Regions from separate parts of the Homo sapiens genome. Here region 1 is linked to region 2. The links are contacts of gene promoters, found by promoter capture Hi-C in human tissues and cell types (Jung and others, 2019). All regions are on one chromosome and are shown on one strand. The core of a region is centred on a gene start or on the middle of the fragment in contact, and the rest is flanking DNA. Distances in the headings are between cores, read along the strand shown. Region 1 overlaps CCDC158 (coiled-coil domain containing 158). Region 2 holds the start of CCDC158 (coiled-coil domain containing 158).

Region 1 (7,585 bases), core at 4,911-7,410, 56 kb before region 2:
TTTCACTGTGCCTCACACACTGGTTATTCACCCATTTCTATCTAGGTTTATCTCCCTACTAGACTGTGAGCTTCATTGTGGGGTTTCCAGGTTCTACCACAGTGTCTTGCATAGTAAATGCTCAGTAACTTCTGACTTTATGAAGTACATGATACTTCATACCATACTAATATGCTTTGGCTCTGTGTTCTGACCCAAATCGCATGTCCTGTTGTAATTCTTAGTGTTGGAGGAGGGGCTTCGTGGGAGGTGATTGGATCATGGGGAAGGATTTCCCCCTTGCTGTTCTTGTGACAGTGTGTGAGTTCTCATGAGATCTGGTTGTTTGAAAGTGTGTAGCACCTCCCTCTTCTCTCTCTCTCTCTCTCTCTACTGCTACCATGTGAAGATGTGCTTGTTTCCCCTTCACCTTCCACCATGATTATGTTTTCTGAGACCTCCCAGCCATGCTTCCTGTGCAGCCTGCAGAACTGTGAGTCAATTAAACCTCTTTTCTTCACAAATTACTCATTCTCAGGTAGTTCTTTATAGCAATGCAAAAATGAACTAATACAGAAAAATGGTACCAGAGAGGTAGGATACTGCTCTACAGATACCTGAAAATATGAAAGCAGCTTTGCAAGTGGGTAACAGATACAGGTTGTAACAGTTTGGAGAGATCAGAAGAAGACAGGAAGATGTGGGAAAGTTTGGAACTTCCTAGAAACTTGTTAAATTGTTGTGACCAGAATGCTGACAGTGATATGAACAATGAAGTCCAGGCTGAAGAAGTCTCAGATGGAGATGAGGAACTTACTGGGAAATGAAGTAAAGATCATTCTTGCTATGCTTTAGCAAAGAGACTGGCAGCATTGTGCCCCTGCTCTAGGAATCTGTGGAACTTTGAACTTGAGAGAGATGATTTAGGGTATCTGGCAGAAGAAATTTCTAAGCAGCAAAGTGTTCAAGATGTGGCCTGGCTGCTCCTAAAAGCCTGTGCTCATTTGCATTAAAAAAGAAATAACCTGAAGCTAGAATTTATATTTAAAAGGGAAGTAGAGCATAAAAGTTTGGAAAATTTGCATCCCAACCATGCAGTTGAAAAGAAAAATCCATTTTCTAGGGAGAAATTCAAGGCTGCAGAAATTTGCTAAGTAAAGAGGAGCCAAATGTTCATAGCTAAGACAATGGGGAAAATGTCTCCAGGTCATTTCAGAGACTTTCTCAGAAGCCACTCCCCTCACTGGCCTGGAGGCCTAGAAGGGAAAAATGGTTTAGTGAACCAGATCCAGAGCCCTGCTGCACTGTGCAGCCTTGGGACATGGTGCCCTGCATTTCAGCTGCTCCAGTTCCAACTCTGGTTAACAGGGGCCAAGGTACAGCTCAGGCTGTTGCTTCAGAGTGCAAGCCCCAAGCCTTGGCAGCTTCCATGTGATGTTGGGGCTGTGGGTGCACAGAGGGCAAGAGTTGAGGCTTGGGAGCCTCCACTTAGATTTCAGAGGATATATGGAAATGCCTGGATGTCCAGGCAGAAGTCTGCTGCAGGAGCAGAGCCCTCATGGAGAACCTCTACTAGGGTAGTGCAGAGGGGAAATGTGGGGTTGGGGCCCCCACACAGAGTCTGCACTGGAGCACTGCCCAGTGGAGCTGTGAGAAGAGGGCCACTGTCCTCCAGACCCCAGAATGGTAGATCCACTGACAGCTTGCACTATGTGCCTGGAAAAGTCATAGGCACTCAGTGCCAGCCCATGAAAGCAGCCATGGGGGCTGTACCCTGCAGAGTCACAGAGGCAGAGCTGCCCAAGGTTTTGGAAGCCCACCCCTTACATCAGCATGCCCTGAATGTGAGACATGGAGTCAAAGGAGATTATTTCAAAGCTTAGAAATTTAATGACTGCCCTGCTGGGTTTCAGACTTGCATGGGCCCTGTAGCCTCTTTGCTTTGGCCAATTTATCTCTTTTGGAACAGGAACATCTACCCAGTGCCTGTACCCTCCATGTATCTTGGAAGTAATTAACTTGTTTTTTATTTTATAGGCTCATAGGTAGAAGTGATTTGCCTTGTCTCAGATGAGACTTTGGACTTGGACTTTTGAGTTAATGCTGGAATGAGTTAAGACTTTGGGGGACCATTGGGAAGGCATGATTGTGTTTTGAAATGTAAGAAGGACATAAGATTTGGGACGGCCCAGGGGCAGAATGATATGGTTTGGCTCAGTGTCCCAACTCAAATCTCATGTCCTGTTGTAATTCCCAGTGTTGGAGGAGGGGCCTTGTGGAAGGTGACTGGATCATGGGGGCGGATTTCCCCTTTGCTGTTCTCATGACAGTGAGTGAGTTCTCATGCGATCTGGTTGTTTCAAAGTGTGTAGCACCTCCCCCTTTGTGTGCTCTCTCTCTGTCTCTCTCTCTCCTGTTGCCATGTGAATATGTGCTTGCTTCTCCTTCATCTTCCACGATTTTAAGTTTCCTGAGGCCTCCAAGCCATGCTTTCTGTACAGCCTGCAGAACTGTGAGTCAATTAAACCTCTTTTCTTTATCAATTACCCAGTCTGGGCTGGGTGGGGTGGCTCATGCCTGTAATCCCAGCACTTTGGGAGGCTGAGGCAGGTGGATCACGAGGTCAGGAGATCGAGACCATCCTGGCTAACACAGTGAAACCCTATCTCTACTAAAAATACAAAAAATTAGCCAGGCGTGGTGGTGGGCGCCTGTAGTCCCAGCTACTTGGGAGGCTGAGGCAGGAGAATGGCATGAACCCGGGAGGCGGAGCTTGCAGTGAGCTGAGATCACGCCACTGCACTCCAACCTGGTGGACAGAGTGAGACTCTGTCTCAAAAATAAATAAATAAAATAAATTATCCAGTCTGAGGTAGTTCTTTACAGCAATGCGAGAAGGGACTAATACACATACCAACCATAAACTGGAGTGTTTCACTGTTTAATATAAGGCCATGGATTTTTCCTGTCAATAAATTCACATGTCTATTTTCACATGTCACTTCATTAGTAAACTTCTAATCAAGCTATTTGACTCCAAGGACTCAAGGTTTTCCACTTTCATAAACACAAAACTGTGCAGACAATGTGATTTATGTGAACACCTGTTTTCCTTTTGGAAGCCTGGACTCTGGACACCTCACACTTCTCTTAGAAATTCAGTACAGAATTTCCAGTACACTGAGGGCTGACTAAAGTTAAGGTCAGTAAGTGTAAGATGTGGGAACTCTTCATGAAAACTATGAGATTTCATGCTATGAATAACTCCATGGGGGCAGCATAACTATTCATGTTTGTCATGTGAGTGAGACACCCTTCTTTTGCAATTGTGCTAGGGTCTACATTGGCTTCACTGCTAAGACTCTTATTTTTTAGTAGGATTTGTGCTGAAGCAACATACCTGAAAGATTGTTTAATTCACTCCTACTTGTTTTCACCTCATTTAATAATTGATCTCTCTCTTGTTTGATGTCCTTCACTGCACGGAGCCGCTCAGAGCCTGCATTCACCAGCTTCACCTTTTCCAGCTCCAAGTCACTCACTCTGGCCTCAAGCTCCCGGATCTTTGCATCTTTTTTATCTTTTAATATCTAAATATATGGATAAATACAAAGGATAGAGAAGTAAAAAATATGTACATGTATAGTTATAATTGATAGCTGCTAACACAGTCCTAAAATCTGACAACAGTCTCCTACTTAATATCCTTTTCTGCCTCCTATCTGTATTCCATCTATATTTATTATCTTTTCATTACTTCCCAGGACACTAAATTTGTATTTTATTATAAAGCATCAATAGAAAGTGGGAAAATATTTCACTTTCTTTTAACCTTAGATGTCAATTCCTAGTATTGCTTGCAACAACCCTTCATTATTCCTATTCTATCTCCATTCACTCAAAAAATACATATTAAGAACCTTCTTTGTGGCAGGAACTATTTTACAAGCAAGGGATATAGAAGCAGGGCTATGACTAGGGTAATGCAAGTGAAGCAGCTAGGTGAGGGCCTCTAACCTGGGCACCTCAGTTACCTCACCCTAGTCCTGGCCCTGGATAGCAATAAACAAAACAATGTCTTTGTCTTCATGTCCTCCTCTAGTAAGAAGAGAAGAAAACAAACAAATATTTAATATGTCAGGTAAGAGAAGTGGCAAGAATAATAATAAAAGCAGGTGAGGGGTACAGAATGAATGCAAGGGAGGGGTTGCTACTTGAGGTAAGCTGGTGTGCAGAAAGAGTTCACATAGCAGGTTTGGGTGCTCTCCTCAAAAAGGCCGCTTACAAGGTTGGCCCTTGACTGTCGTCTGGGAACTTGGATTTTGGGAGGGTTCCCACCACCCTAATAAGAGTGGCTCAGTGTGCCTAAACTGTTTGTGCAAACAATGTGTTCATGCTGAACCCCTGCTTTCCTTCTGGGAACGTGGAATCTGGATACCTGCCAGGTAGAGGGGCCTATGGGACCAAACTCCAATATAAAAACCCGGGCACTGAGGCTTTAATGAGCTTCTCTGGTTAGCAGCACTTGACAGATGTTGTCACGGTGTCTTGCTGGGGCAGGGGGTGGAGTAGGAAGTAAGCATGTCCTGCATAACTCTACTCGGAGAAGGCTCTTGGAAGCTCATGCCTGGCTTTCTCTGGATTTTGCCCCGTGTGCCTTTTCCTTTTGCTGATTTTGCTTTGTATCCTTTCACTGTAATAAATCCTAGCCTTGTGTATGATTATATGCTGAGTCTGGCGAGTCCTCCTAGGGAATCATCAAACCTGGGGTCGGTCTTGGGGACCCTGCCACAGTTGGCAAGGAAAGGCCTCTCTGATGATGTAACATCTAAGCAGATGCTCCTTGTGCTCCTGAGCATAAGGACAAGACACGTGGACAGTCTGGGAAGAGCTCTGTGTACAGGTAACGTGTCTGGGGAAGAGCAGGGACATCAGTAGGGCTGGAGTGAAGTGAGCTTGGGGTAAGCAGGAGATGAAGTCAGAGAGGGGCCAAGGGAATGATCAGGTTGCTCAGAGGCAATGTAAGAACTTGAGCATGCATTGTGAGTGAGTCAGGAAGTCATTGGACAGTTTTGAGTATGAGAGTGATGTAGTGTAACAATTTAAAAATACAACTCTGGCTCTGGTATGAAGGAAAACAGTGGTTGGCGTGGGGGTAGGGGGAGAAGCATGGAGACCAGTGAGAAGGCAACTGGAAGAGCAAACAAGAGAGGTGGGAGCTTAGACTGGGGTGGTTTGTGGTGGTGAAAGTATCTGGTCCTTTGACTAGGGTAGGGAATGTGAATATGGCAACTCTAATTCGGCGTTTCCAACTAACTGTCAGAAACCCCCAGCATGGCATGCTTCTGCAAACTCTGACTCAAACATTCCTATTCCTTCTTCACAGAGGGCCTTCCCCTACAATCCTTTCTGACTCTTCTCTGTTAGAGGCACTACCATGTTGCCAGTCTAAGTTTGAACTCACAAAGTCACCATGTCTTTCCCTGTCCCTCGCCCCTCATACCCAATTGTTGATCAAATCCTGCCCAACCTGCAGGTCTGGACTGCCATCACTTTGCATATGGATTGCCACAGTGCCTCCTAACTGGTCTCTATCTGTGTTGGTAAGGCTTCCTAGGAGGACCCCTCTCTTCCCAGGGTGTAGGTCTGTGTCGTCTAACACAATACCTGCACATGACTCTGGAGCACCTGGAATGTGGCCAAACTAAGTTATGTGCTGTAAGTGTGAAATATACACCAGATTTCAAAGACTTTGTATAAAAATAGAATATAAAATATCTTGGTGATCTGTTGTATTGATTATAATATTAAAAACACTATATTTTGAATATGAGTTAAATAAAATGTTATTAAAATTAATTTCACATTTCTTTTATGTGTCTACTAGAAAACTTAAAATTATATATGTCACTTACACTGTATTTCTGGTGGACAGAACTGACCTAGATCCTTCCGAATAAGTGACATTTGAAAAAAATATTGACTTTCTTTGGTCATCAGATTGTTTCCCCAAATTATCGCCCTACTGGCCTTAGTATCCTGGCAGATGCAATTTGACTGCTATAGCAGCAGTTTAACTGTGGAGACCAATGATACATCTGAAATATAGCCACATGACAAGCTTTTGGCTGTTCAAAAAGGATTGGTGGGGAGCCCCAGGCTTGTCTCACTGCCCGCCTGTGATGGGTTTGGGCAGTAAAGGCCCTAATCTGGGCTATCTGATCTCTGCCTAGCCACTCCTGGCAACTGTCACACTAAATCCAGCTGACCTCATGCAGTAAGGGACGGGGAGGGCTTTCCCTGGGACAACCTGAGGCATCACAACACACATAGGACGAGTGCTGCTCCTGTTCCACCTCTTGAGGCCAGCTGATAGAATTCAGTCCTTTCTTAGTCTTATTATTTATTTGTTTTTAAGAAAGGTCTAGCTCTGGGGACCCACAGTTATTGAAATAAAAGTCACTCTGCTTCTCTGCTGTCAATGTGTGCAGTACCCACTCTGAAGAGGGGACAGAAACCAGGAGAGAAACCATACCTTCTACAGCTATGATTCCCCCACCTTTTTTTCTTATCAGATCACAGAGGGAAGTGGATGTGGCATTAGGACTTGAGTTTTAAACTTATGTTCTTTGTGTCTGTGTGAAACTCTAATTACCTAGGAAATTATTCCCTGAAGCTGCTCCAGCTCCATATTTAGGAACTGAAAATTAGTTTTACTCTCTCCAAGCCACTTCTGCATACTGATGCCAGATTAATCCACTTCCAACACTGTCTTCTTCATGTTACCCCCTCCTTCCTACCCCTAAACCTTTAATGTCTCCCACACCATCTCTAGGCTAAATTACAGACTAGGCTTCTTCCCGGGCTTGGAATGCCATCCTTCCTTCTCTTTGCCTAGTTTTTGCCCATTTCAGGTTCCCAGCTCTCTCTGAAGCTTTCACTGGCCCTCTAGTCAGGAGCTCCACATTCCTTTGAGGCACTAACACAGATCCTGATGGATGCTCTCAGGACCAGCAGTATCCACGTCATCTGGCAACTTGTTCAGAAACACCAAATCTCACACCCCATCCTAGACCTACTGAGTCAGAAACTCTGGGAGCAGGCCAGCAGTCCATGCTTTAAAAAGCCCTCCAGGCGATTCCGGTTCTCACTGAGAACCACTGCACAGTAACATCTACTTAGGCTGCCTAGGTTCAAACCACAAGGTAGTGCTGCTCTCCAGAAAGTTAAACTCTCTGTGTCTCAGTTTCCTCAGCTGTAAAATGGGATAATAATAGTGCCTCCCTCATAAGGTTTTGTGAGGATTAAATTGATTTAAGTTTTAGAGTATAAGAGTGGGATTCTCCTGTTTAGAACCTTAACACACTAGCAATCCACTAGTGATCTTCCTAAGCAAGGTAGAACAACCATCCTTTCTCCTCTGATATGCTCTGCCCTGCATCACACCTGTTCTAAGGGTTTCATTGTAGGGCTGGCCATTGAGAATCCTTTCTATGTCCCTTTTCATGGTGAGTTTGGCCATTTAAAAATGTATATAATCAGGTAAAAACTTAAGCAATAGAAAATTCTATTTTTAATGCAATGAACTTGTTTATTTCCATAAGAT
Region 2 (7,848 bases), core at 1,657-4,156:
AGGCCAGTCATTAAAAGCAGATGGTGCTGGGGTTGGGAATGGGGATTGACTACAGAAGGGTACAAGGCATCATTTTTGGATGATGAAAATGTTCTAAAACTGAATTGTGTGCTGATTGTACAATTCAGTAAGTTTATTAAAAATCACTGGACTGTCCACTTAAAACAGGTGAATTTTATGGTATGTAAATTATACCTTATAAAGCAGTTTGAAAAGAAAGCAGATGTGGGGAGTGTATTAGTCTGTTTTCATGCTGCTGATAAAGACATTCCCAAGACTGGGTAATTTATAAAGAAAAAAGAGGTTTAATGGACTCACAGTTTCACATGGCTGGGGAGGCCTCACGATCATGGAGGAAGAGCAAGGGAAGTCTTATGTGGCGGCAGGCAAGAGAGAGCTTGTGCAGGGGGAGCTCCCCTTTATAAAACCATCAGATCTTGTGAGGCTTATTCACTATCACGAGAACAGCACAGGAAAGACCTGCCCCCATGATTCAATTACCTTCCACTGGGTCCCTCCCGCAACACACGGGAATTGTGGGAGCTACAATCCAAGATGAGATTTGGGTGGGGATACAGCCAAACCATATCAAGGAAAGTGGGAAGTGTAAATTAGCTGCCTGGGTCCCAGAAGTGAATCATTAAACTTGAACACTGAATTTTCCTGTATCCTGAAAACTCCAAAGTATCTTAATTCCAGATGACTAGCGGTTGCTTTTAGCCATATTTTAATACATGGAAGCACTTCTGCATTCCCTCTTTTCCCCAGGCCTGGACCTCAATCCCCAGGTGTCTGCAACTCTTACTTGATATACACACAATGGATAATCAATAATGATTCAGCTAAGGTAAGGACAAAGCCTTTGCCACTTTTTACCTTTATTCTTTTTAGCCAGAGCAAATAGTGATATATTAATAGGAATACTCTTAAAAAATTGCTTTAAATGCCAGACTACCTCCTTCATATGCACCACTTAAATTTCTTTTCTTACCAAATTCCCTATTCAAATCCTTTCTTTAGGATTTACAGGATTCAGATAAATATACAGTGATCTCCACTACTGTACCCCACTATTGCCCCAGCTGAAGACCTGTAAACTATTCATCAGTACAGCATGTATGTGATTTATGAGCACGCTCATATGTATTAGTTCCCTACAGTTTCCATAACAAATTATCAAAACTCGGTAGCTTAAAACAATAGCAACTTATTCTTTCATAATTCTGGAGGCCAGGAATCCAAAATCAGTCTCATGGGGAAGAAAGCATGGTGTTGGCAGGGCTCCCTCCCTCCCTCTGGAGGCTCTGCAAGAGAATCAGTTCCTTGCCTCTTCTAGCTCTGCTGGTTGCCAGGCATTTGGTGACTTGTGGCCACATCACTCCAATATCTGCCTCTGTGGTCACATTGCCTTCTCTTCGGCCTATATCAAATCTGCTTCTCTCTCTCTCTTAGGACCTTTGCGTTTGCATTTAGGACCCACCTAGATAATTCACGATAATCTCTCCATTTCAAGCTACTTAATCACGTATGCAAAGGCACTTTTCCCTTATAAGGTAACATTTACAGGTTTCAGGGATTAGGACCTGACATATTTGAGTGGCCACTGCTCAGCCTACCATATAATTTGGGGCCATCTAGCTGGGGGACGGGTGGATCACAAGAGGCCCTGTTTAATAAATGGTGGAGGTCTAAAGTGGCTCACTCATAACATACTAGATAAAACTAAGTCCTCATTGTAAATGCACAACAACAGTAAGGGCTTTGCATACATACAAATAAATTGCTGTCCTCAATTTGTTTTGGGAGTATAATATTAACTCTATGGCATGGAAACCATTTCACCCACAACACAAGTAAGATAACCGCACTAAGATTAAAAGCAATGAGCGCAGTACAGAGATAGGAGGACCACATCTCTCTCAGCACTCCTGCACCCTTACCTGATGAGCTTCCGCACAGAGAAACAGTCCTACCTAGCATGTCTCTGGGATATGTGGAAGCCCTGGTCCTTTCCCCACACGCCCCCGCCATACCCGGCCACAACGCCTTAATCTCCTGCTGAGAGAAGCAGCAAGAACTGGTTGCCAGTCAAAAAACCTGGGCAACAGCCGACCTCACTTCTACTTTCCCCTGACGTTGGAGTTCAGCATGAGGCACAAACAAAACCTGGAGCAGCCTGAGTGGGGCCTGGAGCAGAGTGCTGTGGAAAAGGATGGAGACTTTCCAGAACTCATTGTGTTGCTGATTGATGCTGATAATGAGGGAAAGCTCTGACCCCCACATGTGGTTTAAAGACAGGGCTCAAGCTGAAAGGGCCCTTGCGCCGGCATTTAACACCATTCCGTCTTGGATGCGAGGCTGTCCTCTCTACCACCAAGTCTTCCCCATCTCCTCCCCCTGTTCGCGGCAGCGCGGTAGACACAGAGTCAGCAGTCACGTTGGGGCAGGTTACTCGGTGATTCTCTTCCCCACAAATCAAATCAGTTTGCGCAGGCCCCTGTGTTCTTCAAGGTCCAGGTTTCAGCGCCACCGTCCCCAGGGGTCTTGCAATCCCCTAAAACAACAGCAGCTCATTCCAGTAAAGAAACAATTTATTGGGCATCTTCCATGTGCAGAACAAACACGAGGCACCGGAAGATTCCAGAAATGAACACGAGTCGCTCCGGGTCCTCAGAAGAACCCCACTCCCACCCCACCATCCTCGTCTCCCGGGCCGCGCCCCGCTTGTACCTGCAACCAACACCTAATCCTAAGACACCGGCCACATCTCCGCGGGGCGCCGGCGGGCGCAGCGGCCCCACCTACGTCGACCTGGCGGCTGGGACGGGGCGGCTCCCCACTCTTCGCCCCTAGGCCCCGCGGAGGCTGCGGGGCGGCTCCTCCTCCTCGGCTGCGGCGCCGGAAGCTGCCCGCGCCCGTCACTCCTCGCGGCTGTGGCGCTCGGGGCGCTGCCCAGTCCGCGCGAGCCGCGTGGGTGACGGTTAGGACGCTCTGCGAGGCTTCGTAGTTGGGGGAGGGGAGGAGGGGGGTGCTCGGCAGCTGCCCGGCGGGGACCCCTCCCGCGCCTGCGACTCCGCCCGCCGGACGCCGTCGCTGGGGCATCCGAGCGTCGAAGTCCCCACCACCGCCCGGGCGCCCTAAGGAGTGGGGGTGTACCCAGCCCGGAGTCAAATCCTGGAGCCCTGCCCCAGAAACTACCCTGGGTTCGGACCTGCACCCGGCGCCCTCTGCCGCTTCTCCCACAGCCTCCTAACTGGTCTCCGGCCCTACTCTTGCCCCCACCCGAGCGCCTCGGGCCACTCTCGTAGCTGTCCCCACCGTGGTCTTCCCAGATAACTCACTGACCCGCACCAGTCTGAGCTCTTACCTGCCAAAGAGTCAAGCCCAATCTGGAGTTGCCCGCCGGGCCTCCTACTCTGACACCCCCACCCGGCCCCACCTCACCCCCCCCTCCCATTCCCACTCCTGGCATTCCCATTTGACCATTTCAAGTTAACAGAATTCACATTTTGCAGCTCTGTTTTCTCTGTCCCCGAATGTTCAAGTTCAAACGTGTTCTCGGCATAGCTGACCCTTCTGCCTCTGGAGACTTGTTCCCTCCGCTGTGCTACAGTTACCCTCTGTCATTATCTCTAATATAGAATTTATCAGATTTTGCTGCCCAAATTATCGATCAAATGGAACGCATCCAGAAAGGCCAGTGTCTGATAGATGCAGCCTGAGGCATTTAATTCTGCTAGCAATCACATTGTGCAGACACCTACAGCAAATAACTTTTTATGTATAAGTTGATTAGAAATATTAGTAAGTCTTACATTAAATAATGTAGCTACAAATTTTAATAAAAATAGATTAAATGCCATTAAAGATTGTTTATCATATCTTTGTAGTTAATCCATTTATTGGCTTATAGAGATCTAGGATTAGCTATAGAATCGAGCATTTTTAACAGGAAGTGAAACCATAAGTATTACATAGAAAGGTAAATAATTTAGGTCTTGTGGTTGGACAAAAAGCAATTTCTAATTTTTTCTTTTTTCTATCAAAACATGAGTGTTCAATGACATAAAAATTTTCCATACCTAATACATGGTTTCCATTGGTGTCTCATTTTGTGCTTGTACCCTGGACACACACAAAAAGGTTTTTTTCTTTTCAACGTCTTTAATTAAAAGGTGTGTTAATTAGTGTAGCATGAAATTATCTACACCCACATATATGTACGAAAAGTTATGTGCCCCTGATTTTACTATAAAATTCATCACATTTTGAAGTGTCCTGCGGTTTTACAACATTTTTTAAATATTGTATTAAAAACAGCTTCTTAGCTTTTTAAATAAAGAATTAAAAGATCAAGAAAGGGATCCAAAGTCCTTTTCCATTCATTCATTCATTCCATCCATATTTATAGGGCACCTACAACATGCTATGTGTAGGTTGTGACAATAAAGCTGGGGCCCTCTCCCTCTCCCTCTCCCCCTCCCCCTCCCCCTCCTTTTCCCTCTCCAAGGTCTCCCTCTCCCTCTCTTTCCACGGTCTCCCTCTGATGCCCAGCCGAAGCTGGACTGTACTGCTGCCATGTCGGCTCTCTGCAACCTCCCTGCCTGATTCTCCTGCCTCAGCCTGCGGAGTGCCTGCCATTGCAGGCGCGCGCCGCCACGCCTGACTGGTTTTCGTATTTTTCTGGTGGAGACGGGGTTTCGCTGTGCTGGCCGGGCTGGTCTCCAGCTCCTAACCGCGAGTGATCCGCCAGCCTCGGCCTCCGGAGGTGCCGGGATTGCAGACGGTGTCTGGTTCACTCAGTGCTCAATGGTGCCCAGGCTGGAGTGCAGTGGCGTGATCTCGGCTCGCTACAACCTCCACCTCCCAGCCGCCTGCCTTGGCCTCCCAAAGTGCGGAGAGTGCTGCCTCTGCCCGGCCGCCACCCCGTCTGGGAAGTGAGGAGCGTCTCTGCCTGGCCGCCTATCTTCTGGGATGTGAGGAGCCCCTCTGCCTGGCTGCCCAGTCTGGAAAGTGAGGAGTGCCTCTTCCCGGCCGCCATCCCATCTAGGAAGCGAGGAGCGTCTCTGCCCGGCCGCTCATCGTCTGAGATGTGGGGAGCGCCTTTGCCCCGCCGCCCCGTCTGCGGTGTGAGGAGCGCCTCTGCCCGGCCGCGACCCCGTCTGGGAGGTGAGGAGCATCTCTGCCCAGCTGCCCCGTCTGAGAAGTGAGGAGACCCTCTGCCTGGCAACTGTCCCGTCTGAGAAGTGAGGAGCCCCTCCGCCTGGCAGCCGCCCCATCTGAGAAGTGAGGAGCCCCTCCGCCCGGCAGCCACCCCGTCTGGGAAGTGAGGAGCGTCTCCGCCCGGCAGCCACCCCGTCCGGGAGGGAGGTGGGGGTCAGCCCCTCTGCCCGGCCAGCCGCCCCATCCGGGAGGGAGGTGGGGGGGTCAGCCCCCCGCCCGGCCAGCCACCCCATCCGGGAGGTGAGGGGCGCCTCTGCCCGGCCGCCCCTACTGGGAAGTGAGGAGCCCCTCTGCCTGGCCACCACCCCGTCTGGGAGGTGTACCCAACAGCTCATTGAGAACGGGCCATGATGACAATGGTGGTTTTGTGGAATAGAAAGGGGGGAAAGGTGGGGAAAAGATTGAGAAATCGGATGGTTGCCGTGTCTGTGTGGAAAGAAGTAGACATGGGAGACTTTTCATTTTGTTCTGTACTAAGAAAAATTCTTCTGCCTTGGGATCCTGTTGAACTGTGACCTTACCCCCAAACCTGTGCTCTCTGAAACATGTGCTGTGTCCACTCAGGGTTAAATGGATTAAGGGCGGTGCAAGATGTGCTTTGTTAAACAGATGCTTGAAGGCAGCATGCTCGTTAAGAGTCACCACCACTCCCTAATCTCAAGTACCCAGGGACACAAACACTGCGGAAGGCCGCAGGGTCCTCTGCCTAGGAAAGCCAGAGACCTTTGTTCACTTGTTTCTTTGTTCACTTGGTTATCTGCTGACCTTCCCTCCACTATTGTCCGATGACCCTGCCAAATCCCCCTCTGCGAGAAACACCCAAGAATGATCAATTAAAAAAAAAAAGATCGAAAAAAAAAAAAAAAAAAGAAAGCTGGGAACAAATACAGTCCCTACCCTAGTAGTGCTTACATTCTTGTAGAGGAAGATGAGCAATGCACAAATAGACAAGTTCAAATATGCCAGATGGGGATACGTGTTGTGGAGACAGAGGTAGGAGGTTAGGGAGTGTGGGGCTGCTGTTTCATAGTGAGGTCTTGAAAAGGCCTCATTGATAAAGTGACATTCAAAAGAGACTTGTAGGGCTGGGGGAAGGGATCTGTGTGGTTATTGTGGGACAGAGCTTTTCAGGCATTTGGTTGGTGTGTTTGAAAAAACCCAGAGGCTAGTGAGGACTGAGCAGAGTGGATGAACAAGCAGAGGTTGGGGCGTTGTGGTCATTTAGGGCCCAAGTCACCGAGAGCTCTTTAGTAAGAGTCCATGCATAGGTCCAAGGTTGTTGTGTCTCCCTTCACTGGTTCTTACTCTGCACTAGACCCTGTGCTGGGTACTGGGGAGATGCAAAGAAGCTCCAGTTTCTGCCCTCAAGGAACCTGTGTCCCTCCTAATGTCAATCCAAATGGTGGCTGGGGTTTGTGAGGATGCAGTTAAGACTCAGGAACATGGAACCCAGGCCTGATCTGAGCTTTGGCACTAGCTTGGGCAAGCCATTTGAACTTACAAAGCGTTAGTATTTTCATCTGCAAAATGTGAGATGTAGAAATATCAGAAGGGGCTTTTCTAACTGAAGAAAAAAAAAAAACAAGAAAAAGCCCTATGATTTTATAAAATCAAAGCATAGAACTTTATCTTAATACAAAAACTTTTGTTAAAATTGTGTCAGAAAAGTACTTCAGACATAATATACATAATGCATATACAGGGTCACTTAAAATTTAATTCACAATTTGCTAAGTTCAAAAAAAGTCTTGGTTCAGCCAACACAACGAGCTTTGTAAACAGGTGGTACTTAGGAAAAACCACATATTTTAATTTAGCATATGGTGTAGATTATATGAAATTACTTTAACCATTGTGTTTCCTTTATGATCTAGACCTTGAAACTTTTCTTTGGCCAAAGATCTTCAAAACTAAATACAGTGTTAAAGCAGAGTTACAGAGCAGCCTGGATTAGGGGGATAGATATTTTCCTTTCCTGACTATGGTTTAAAACTTTCTGTTGTACATTTTATTGGGCAACGACTTTTCCCCAGTGCCCAGTACAGAGCTGGACATATAGAAGTCATCAATATATATTGTGGTGGAGGGGATAAGTGGCAAGTCATCTCTAATACATAGTATTAGTATGCAAGTACATAGAGCATAAAATATTAAAAGACCATGTAGTTAATGTTCTGACATTCTTCTCTCCACCAGCGACACAAGGAGAGAAATATATCTAATTAGAAAGCTTGAGTTCAATAAACAAATATTTATTGAGCACCAACTGAGTATCAGGAACATCAGTGAACAAAACGGACCCAAACCCTGCCCTCATGGAACTTACGTTTCAGTGGTGGGGGACGGATCATAAATAATCACCGTGACAAAATTAATGCACTAGAAGGTGGTAAATGCCATGGGGACAAAGGAAGCAGGGAAGGAGAAGAGGAAGTGTGGGATGGATTGTGACTGAGTCCAAACTTGTTCTTCTTGCCACATCACGTCAATAAGTCAAGAGACAAGGAGGTGGAGGAAGGAAAGCGACTTTATTTTGGGGAGCCAGGAAACCAAGAAGAAGCAGACCAATGTCCTAAAGAACCATCTTAGAATTATGCGAGCTTTGCCTTGTCTTTTATATTTAAG

What was found. The method cuts DNA at HindIII sites, captures the fragments that hold promoters and counts their contacts. A contact is called where the count stands out against the background at its distance.
Region 1: a contact is called between a fragment that was not itself captured here and the fragment with the promoter of CCDC158 in region 2, in 1 of the 25 tissues and cell types used here (pancreas).

Annotation. Positions count from the first base shown.
Region 1 is chr4:76,358,747-76,366,331 of GRCh38, forward strand. It overlaps CCDC158 (coiled-coil domain containing 158), which reads right to left. Exons shown (of 25, transcript NM_001394954.1): 13 at 3,380-3,569. Among named protein-coding and RNA genes, the nearest start is that of STBD1, 56 kb to the left of the region's middle. The HindIII fragment of the contact is 4,364 bases long and covers 3,979-7,585 here.
Region 2 is chr4:76,418,235-76,426,082 of GRCh38, forward strand. CCDC158 (coiled-coil domain containing 158) reads right to left here and starts at 2,907. Exons shown (of 25, transcript NM_001394954.1): 1 at 2,731-2,907. The HindIII fragment of the contact is 21,952 bases long and covers 1-7,848 here.